Regions from separate parts of the Homo sapiens genome. Here all the other regions are linked to region 1. The links are contacts of gene promoters, found by promoter capture Hi-C in blood cells and fetal thymus (Javierre and others, 2016). All regions are on one chromosome and are shown on one strand. Each heading gives the region's core, a stretch centred on a gene start or on the middle of the fragment in contact. The rest is flanking DNA. Distances are from core to core; before and after follow the strand shown. Region 1 holds the start of LINC02416 (long intergenic non-protein coding RNA 2416). Region 2 overlaps PCED1B (PC-esterase domain containing 1B). Region 3 overlaps PCED1B (PC-esterase domain containing 1B).

Region 1 (2,700 bases), core at 192-2,691:
CTTGAGTCTCACTGATCCTCAAAGCAGACACTCAAAATAAATGTGCTGTGAGTTTAGTTTAGATCCAGTCCAGATGCTATTTGAAGAAAGAAGGGAAAGGAAAGGAAAAGAAAGAAAGAGGGAAGGAAGGAAGGAAGGAAGGAAGAAAGGAAGGAGGGAAAGAAGGAAGGAAGGAAGTGAAGTAAGTTCAAAGTTACTTGTTTAAAAAATAAATACAAAGAAAATATTCTTTTCTGGCTGCCAATCTGTTAAAAAATTAAAAAGTAATATATAGTTTGGGGTTGTAATTATCAGGCTATTGTAATTTGCCCTAATTTTTGTACAGTTTTATTTATTTCAAATGTCCAATTTTAAGGAGAAGATAATAGACTTCAAATTATGGATAGAGAGATTGTAATAGAAATCTCTTCAGATACTAAGAAACCTGGTTTCATTTCATTCTCTTTGACATTTCATTCTCTTTGATCTTTAATATCCTTATCATTGGTCCTAAAATCCACTAGCTCTTTTTGGGTTACATGAACATTATTAACTTCAGATATTCTACAAGTCATGCATGTTGACTTGGGGTTCTGGTTTTGGCTATTATCTTATGCAGACTGGTGCCGTCTACCAGCAGCTTGGTACACACATTTTTTTCCTCACCAAAGATGGATTAAAGAAATAAAGTAGCAGAAGTTTTGTGAATAGTGGGTTTGACAGTAATGCATATACCAAGATATATGCTGGTAAAATGTATCCATCCAGCAGCCTTAATTTTTACATATAAAGTTGTCCCTTGGTATTCACGGGGGATTGGTTCCAGGACCCCCTGTGGGTACCAAAATCTGCAGATACTCAAATCCCTGATATAAGATGGTGTAGTGTTTGCATACAACCTATGCACATCCCCCATATACTTTAAATCATATCTAGATTACTTATAATGCCTAATATAATGTAAATGCTATGTAAATAGTTGTTGCATTGTGTTGGTTTTTTATTTGTTTTTTTGTTGTTGTTGTCATTTTAATTTTTTTCAGACATTTTTGGTCTATGGTTGGTTGTATTTGCAGATGCAGAATCCTCATATACAGAGGGCCAGCTGTAACTCATATGTTTTCAAGAGGATCTTCTCAATATAACAATGTGTAGCTTATGGCCAGGCACAGTGGCACACGCCTGTAATCCCAGCACTTTGAGATGCCAAGGCTGGCAGATCTCTTGAGCTCAGGAGTTTGAGACCAGCCTGCAAAACACAGTGAAACCCTGCCTCTATAAAAAATACAAAAATTAGGTGGGCATGGTAGTCTGTGAATGTAGTTCCAGCTACTTGGGAGGTTGAGGTGGAAGGATCACTTGACCCCAGGAGGTCAAGGCTGCAGTGAGTCATGAGTGTGCCACTGCACTCCAGCCTGTGCGACAGAGTGAGACTCCGTCTCAAGAAAAGAAAAGAAAAAGGAAACTGCAACGATGAACAGATCAGAATAGGCGACATGCACTGAACAAGGTAAAAAAGACAGAAAATTATCTGGAGAGGTGGCCGGAGGACACATCAAGAAGCGCCTTGTACATTGGTAAGGATTGTGGATTTTATGGTGATTAAAAGTTGCTGTGGGGTTTTTTGAGTACAGGAATGACTTAACCGGTATAATGTTTGTAAAAGGATCCATTTGGCTGCTGTGCAGAGAAATAGACAGGACAAAGTAAGTGGAGAAGCCAGGATACATACAGGAAGCTATGGTCATTGTCCTGGTGAAAGCAATCCACAACTTGGGCCTGGTAGGGACAAAGGTGAAAAGTTGCTAATTCTACATGTATTCTTTGATGGATTGGGCATGGAGAGGGAGAGAAAGGGAGTGGTCAATAAGATTCCAAAGTTTTGGGCCCAAGCAATTGAGTAAAACCGTGGTGACTTTTACTGAAATAGGAAAAACTGAGGTGGGTCAGTCTGGGGCAGGGGGAAATATGAAATTCCATTTGAGAGCTGTTAAGTTTGAGATATCTATTATATAATCAAGTGGGTATGTCAAGTAGGCATTTGTTGGTTTTTATAATTGTATTAGTCAGGGTTCTCTAGAGGGACAGAACTAATGGGATAATATATGATATATACATATATATGATATATATATATATATATCAATTGTACCCCAAACCTCAGCATCACATAATATACTCATGTAACAAACCCACACATGTATCCCTGAATCTAAAATAAAAGATGAAATTATAAAAAAAGTTATATTGAAGCGTGAAATATTGATTACAATTTTGAAGCATAAAATATATCGATTATTATCATGGTTATTACTGAGTATCAACTTGATTGGATTGAAGGATGCAAAGCACTGATCCTGCGTGAGTCTGTGAGGGTGTTGCCAAAGGAGATTAACATTTGAGTCATATATATATATATAGATATAGATATATAGATATAGATATAGATATAGTTTAGTAAGTATTAACTCACACAATCACAAGGTCCCACAATAGGCCATCTGCAGGCTGAGGAGCAAGGAAAGCCAGTCTGAGTCCCAAAGCTGAAGAACATGGAGTCTGATGTTTGAGGGCAGGAAGGGTCCAGCATGAGAGAAAGATGTAGGCTGGGAGGCTAGGCCAGTCTAGTCTTTTCATGTTTTTTTGTTGTTTTTTTTTTTTTCTGCCTGCTTTATATTATAGCCATGCTGGCAGCTGATTAGATGGTGCCCACCCAGATTA
Region 2 (2,700 bases), core at 79-2,578, 220 kb before region 1:
ATTGCTTGAACCCCAGAGGCAGAGCTTGCAGTGAGCTGAGATTGTGCCACTGCACTACAGCCTGGTGACAGAGTGAGACTCTATCTCAAAAAGATATATACATGCATATACATGTTTTCACATATATTTTCAATCTATTTTTCTTCTTTCCTAATCCACAGAACAGAGCTCACACTATATATACCCCTTCACTCATTTTTTAACTTATTACCAAATATTGAGAATCATTTCATATACATACATTACAGTATCTTTTAGGAACCAGTATTTGCACCGATGGATTTAACTTTATTTCACCAATCTCTACTGATAGGAATTGGTCATTTAGTTTGTTGCCATTACAAATAATGCTTTAATTAATGAGTTTGGTGTCCATGTCCATAGATCTAGGTGAACTTCCATCACTATATTCCTATAGTAAATTTCATACAATGGGCTTGCTCCTTCAAAGGATATATGCAATTAAGATTTTTATTCAAAGTACCAGCTAATATGTTAAAGAAAGTTAATTTTTTTATTTTTATTTTTATTTTTATTTTTTTGCACCACGAACACATGCACTTTATTGAATGACATTGTAGAAAAGTGTGTGAGGATAAAGGGCTGATACAGGACTCAGCTTTGGGGGCAGGGCAAGGAATGGAAGGCGGAGTGCATGGGAGACAGGTTGTGGGCAGAGCTCCTGGCCCGGATGCTGTCTCCTGTTCTATCGAGAGACTTGGAAGATCAGCACTGAGATGATGATGAGCAGAATGGTCAGGAGGATGCCCAGAGCCAGGGCCCAGATGTTCAGGCACTTGGCAGTGGAGACACAGGCCTGGGCCCCAGTCAGGTCACCAACCATCTTCCTGTCCATAGACTTCCTGTCCTAGACTTCACAGAGTAGATGAATGCTATGAAGTCCGGGCAGCAGGAATTCTTGAAGAGGGTGTTGAATAGGGACCAGACGACATGGTCGGGCACGGAGGTCTCACTGCAGATGTGGATCATGGTGAACGCTGGAGGCACAGGGTTGTGGGGTGCCCCCAGCACAGCCACCTCATGCTTCTCCTTGAGCATCTCATGGTTGGTGGAGCGGCCGGTGTTGGCAGGAGTGAAGAGGGTTTGGACAGTGTGGTTCATGGTCTCCAGGGAGAACCAGCTGTGGTTGGGTTGCTGGGATGGTTCTCCAAAAAAAAAAAAAGATTTTTATAGATAAGAACAAGTTACTCTCCAGGAGAGCATTCAAAGTTACACTTCCACCAAAAGGGTACAGTAGCCTTTTTTCCTCCATACTTTCACCAGTACTCACCATTCAATTTCTTTCTTTTTTTTTTTTTTTGGCCAATTTGATAGATATATCATGTTTTGGTATTCATTTCCTTTATTATAATCATCTTTCACATACTTCTTGCCCATTTGTACTTTTGCTCTGTAAGATGCATGATCTTATCTTTTGCCCATTTTTCTATTGATTTGCTCACCTTTCAATTCATTTGAATGAGCGCTTTGTAAATCAAGAAAATTAGCCTGTCCACCTGTCAAAAGTTTCTAATGATTGAAATAAATTATTTTCTTCCCTTTATCTTAACAGATAGACTTCTTAAGCCCTCTTATGCAAAGAATTTCAGGCTGATTTCACTTTAAAATGAGATATAGGTGATAACAAAAGCCAAATTGTCACCTACTTTAAAGGATAAGTGAATAATAAGAAGGCAGCATGATGTACCCAAGGGAAATTTGAGTGATCTTAGCTGGGAAAGAAACCAAATATTCATGCCTTTATGCACTGCACAAAACTTGCACACCAGAACTTTAAAAGATGACTCTTTGAAAGTAGTTCTTCAGTGTCTTTCATACTCCTTAATCTTCCCAATTTTAAGTAACACTGTTGACAAACTTTAATTTCCATTTTAATAATCTTAGCATCATTATGAGATAGTATTAGGCAAATATTTAAGTATAAACGATATCTACAAACTTTAATTTCCATTTTAATAATCTTAGCATCATTATGAGATAGTATTAGGCAAATTTTTAAGTATAAACGATATCTACATATACTAGAAGACAAGTCATAGTTCAAGAGAAGCATGATATAAAAAGGCCATTATGATGAGAGTCAGTGGACTTGGATTCTAGATGTGCCACCGTCACTCCTTTGCCACGTAACCTTGGGTAACTCCCTCAGTTTCTGTGGTTCTGTTTTCTCATCTATAAAATGAAAATAATAATAACTTTTCTTCCTAGCCAATACCTTGTTTTGCTAATTAAAAGAACTCATGAAGTATTTTGCAAACTATGCAACACTCTCGATTACTGTAATTGTTGGGAAGTAACATATCTGTAGACTACTTTCAGCAATGTCTTATTGCCATTCTCCAGGTTGTGAAAGGTTCTGGTACTGATTACAAAATCTATTTTGAAAATTTCCCATGATATGAATATAAACAAAGTCTTAATTTCATTTTTTATTTCCTTCACATTTAAACAATTAATGGCATATTTTGATTAAACATGCTAGCTTCTTATTTGATCATGTCCAAAATATGTCTTCAAATATAGATGTGATTAGAGTGGAATCATCAACAAATCCAAGGCAATCCTTTGCAAAAATAATTTATCTGTTATTGGAGACAAAATATTTAAGCTATATAATGTAAGACCTAAAAGAATGCTATTAGATTCTTGTATACGTTTTTCTAAGATGTTTCTATCCTA
Region 3 (2,700 bases), core at 18-2,517, 240 kb before region 1:
ATTTTTTTTAAAGAGCCAATAAATACTTCCAAGTGTCTCATAAGCAACCAGCTGTGCTTGTTCTAGCTGAGGTACCTCGGTTTATTTACAGATCTTATTAGAAAGTCACTTCTTCTCATGGTAAAGGGAGCCGATGTCATTTTGTACATCTTTGAAGGAATTCAGTATCATTCATGGATTATCCATTCATGGGTTCTCTGATCGCTCAAAGGCACCGGCACTGCCCCTCATAAGCTGTTGGTGGGGGTCGTGTAGCCCCTCCATAAGATGGCCAGAGAAAAGGCAGCCCACCTGACTCAGAGCTGCCAACCCCCAGCCCACGCGAGCTCTGTGCTTGATTATGGGTGTGTATTACCATCTGGTATGTGGGTTTAGCAGTAAGAATAGGAGAATCAATCAGGCTTTCCATGTCATATGTTGCTATTATTTTATTTAACACTTGTTCTATGGCCAATACTGCACCAAGCACAGCATAAAATCTGGAATTACTTGATACACTCCCTATCTATTATCCAAGGGAAACTTCTGCCAAACTTGCATCAGGGGATTCCTCTCAGTCCACTGAAAAGTGACTTTATTTCCTAATGACTTCCAAATACAGAGTCTTGATTGTTTAAAGACTAAAAGCTATGCTTTAGAATTTTAAGTAAGATCCATTTTAATAAGATTCTCTTAGCAAATTTCTCTATACTTCATTAAGTTTCTATCCTGGAGGAAAATATATCTCTCCATATTCCATGATGTTAGTGGAGGAAATGAAGCAACCACTTCCACTCACTATTTCCCTGGCTGTTTCTATTTAACAAAACGGTGATTTTAGCTGAAGCTTTGTTTGTGATTTTAATCACAATCTATATGTTGGACCTCAGTAATTAGAAATTTGAGTGTTTGTCGTAAAAAGCTACTTCCAGGGTACATTATTTTACCATGATGCCTTCCAATGTGTGGTCTCTTAAAAACTCTGTAAGGTCACATTATTAGCCAGTGTTTGTAATAGACATAGTACCTGCCTTTCTCTTATGCCTTTTGGAAGACTCTTCAATTCTTCCCTGGGCTCCAGGGAGTACTGGGATTATTCAAGTGCTTCCTTCCTTCAGCTAAGAGACTAAAGTTTCATTTTTACAGTAAAGAGCCTCAGCCTGCAGAGAGCGGTAACAGCTTCTTGGGCATGTCAGCCCTTGCACATACGACTGCCCTGCTGTGTGCAAAAGCAAATGGAATTTCCTTTCCTTTCCTCTTAACTGATATTCCTTCACTCTTGTTAGGTTTGCCTTTACAATCTATTACCAAAAACTGGACAACAGAACTAGCATTATTTAAAAACATACACAATCCCCTCCCAATGACTTGGGGATGTCTTATTCATTCTGTAAAGCTGGGCACTGGGTTTGGTCTCTGGGATATACTAAGATGCTCAGACAGAGTCCCTGTTCTAAAGAAGTAGGGGAGAGGATTTATACTCAATTACATAATACTGTACAAGTGAGGACATAATATATGGTATCAGAGACGGCTATGGAAATTCAGAAGATGGGAAAATCTCTGAATTTAGGAATCACAGAAGGGGAATGAAAATACCTCACTTTTCTTGAACATATACTATGTATCAGGCACGGTGTTAGGCAGCTTACATACATGATTTAGTTCAATCTTCACAACCATGACATGATGAGGCATTTTTTACTCCAAATTTGGCAACAAAGAGAAAGAAGCTTGTCCAGATCTGACTGTTTGCTCAGCTTTCATGCTTTATACTGCATTGTTCCATACTGATGACGCTCCTGCTTCAAATCCTATTCCCCTGTTCTACCCCCACCTCCCAAAAGGAGCAGAAAGATTGAGAGGCTTCAGACAATCAGATTTTACCAGATTTGTACTGCTTTTTAGTTTGCATCAGAAATCTGTGGGACCTGTATGCAGAGAACCATATATGTCCAAAGTGTAGCCAAAATGCAATTTTTTTTTTTTAAGAATGTAATTTTAAGAATTGCATGGCTGGGCACAGTGGCTCACGCCTGTAATCCCAACACTTTGGGAGGCCAAAGCAGGTGGAACACCTGAGGTCAGGAGTTCGAAACCAGCCTGGCCAACATGACGAAACCCCGTCTCTACTAAAAATACAAAAATTAGCTGGGTGTGGTGGCGGGCAGAGTTTGTAGTGAGACGAGATTGCGCCCCTGCACTCCAGCCTGAGTGACAGAGCATGACTCCATCTAAAAAAGAAAAAAAAAACACACACACACACACACATAATTTATTTAGAGGTACACAATGGGGAAACCCTTTGTATGTCTGCATAGTTCTTTCTTCCTCTTGTGATTCCAGATGGGAATCTAGGACTTAGATAATTGACTACAGATTTACTGGGCTTGGGGAAAGATGCAAAGCCATAACACAGGAGCACACTTGTACAGAGAGAGCAGCTATCAGAATTCAGATTCAGCACACCTTCATGAGTATCCACTATGTGCCACTTAGAGGCTTATCTTTTACACTTTTATCTTCACACCAAACCTGCAAGTTGGATGCTAATCTCTCCCATTTGACACATGAGGAAACTGAGCCCACATAGAAAGTAAGTGATAGAGTTTAGATTCAAACTCAGGCCCTCTGCCTCAAGTCCAACTTATGACTTAAAAGCAGAAATATTTGAAGTCTGGAAAGAGGCTTTTCAGTTCATTAAAATCTGGCCTGTCAAAG

Evidence for each region. Contacts are between HindIII fragments. The CHiCAGO score rates a contact against its expected background, and 5 or more counts as called.
Region 2: a contact is called between a fragment that was not itself captured here and the fragment with the promoter of LINC02416 in region 1, in 1 of 17 cell types (monocytes). The highest score is 5.5, in monocytes.
Region 3: a contact is called between a fragment that was not itself captured here and the fragment with the promoter of LINC02416 in region 1, in 2 of 17 cell types (activated CD4 T cells and total B cells). The highest score is 6.1, in activated CD4 T cells.

Annotation. Positions count from the first base shown.
Region 1 is chr12:47,352,327-47,355,026 of GRCh38, forward strand. It overlaps LINC02416 (long intergenic non-protein coding RNA 2416), which reads left to right and starts at 1,442. Exons shown (of 4, transcript NR_183615.1): 1 at 1,442-1,556. The HindIII fragment of the contact is 14,565 bases long and covers 1-2,700 here.
Region 2 is chr12:47,134,780-47,137,479 of GRCh38, forward strand. All of the region lies in intron 2 of PCED1B (PC-esterase domain containing 1B), which reads left to right. It also overlaps the pseudogene IFITM3P6. Among named protein-coding and RNA genes, the nearest start is that of MIR4698, 52 kb to the right of the region's middle. The HindIII fragment of the contact is 6,185 bases long and covers 1-2,700 here.
Region 3 is chr12:47,111,735-47,114,434 of GRCh38, forward strand. The region is part of intron 2 of PCED1B (PC-esterase domain containing 1B); the gene reads left to right. Among named protein-coding and RNA genes, the nearest start is that of AMIGO2, 33 kb to the left of the region's middle. The HindIII fragment of the contact is 886 bases long and covers 825-1,710 here.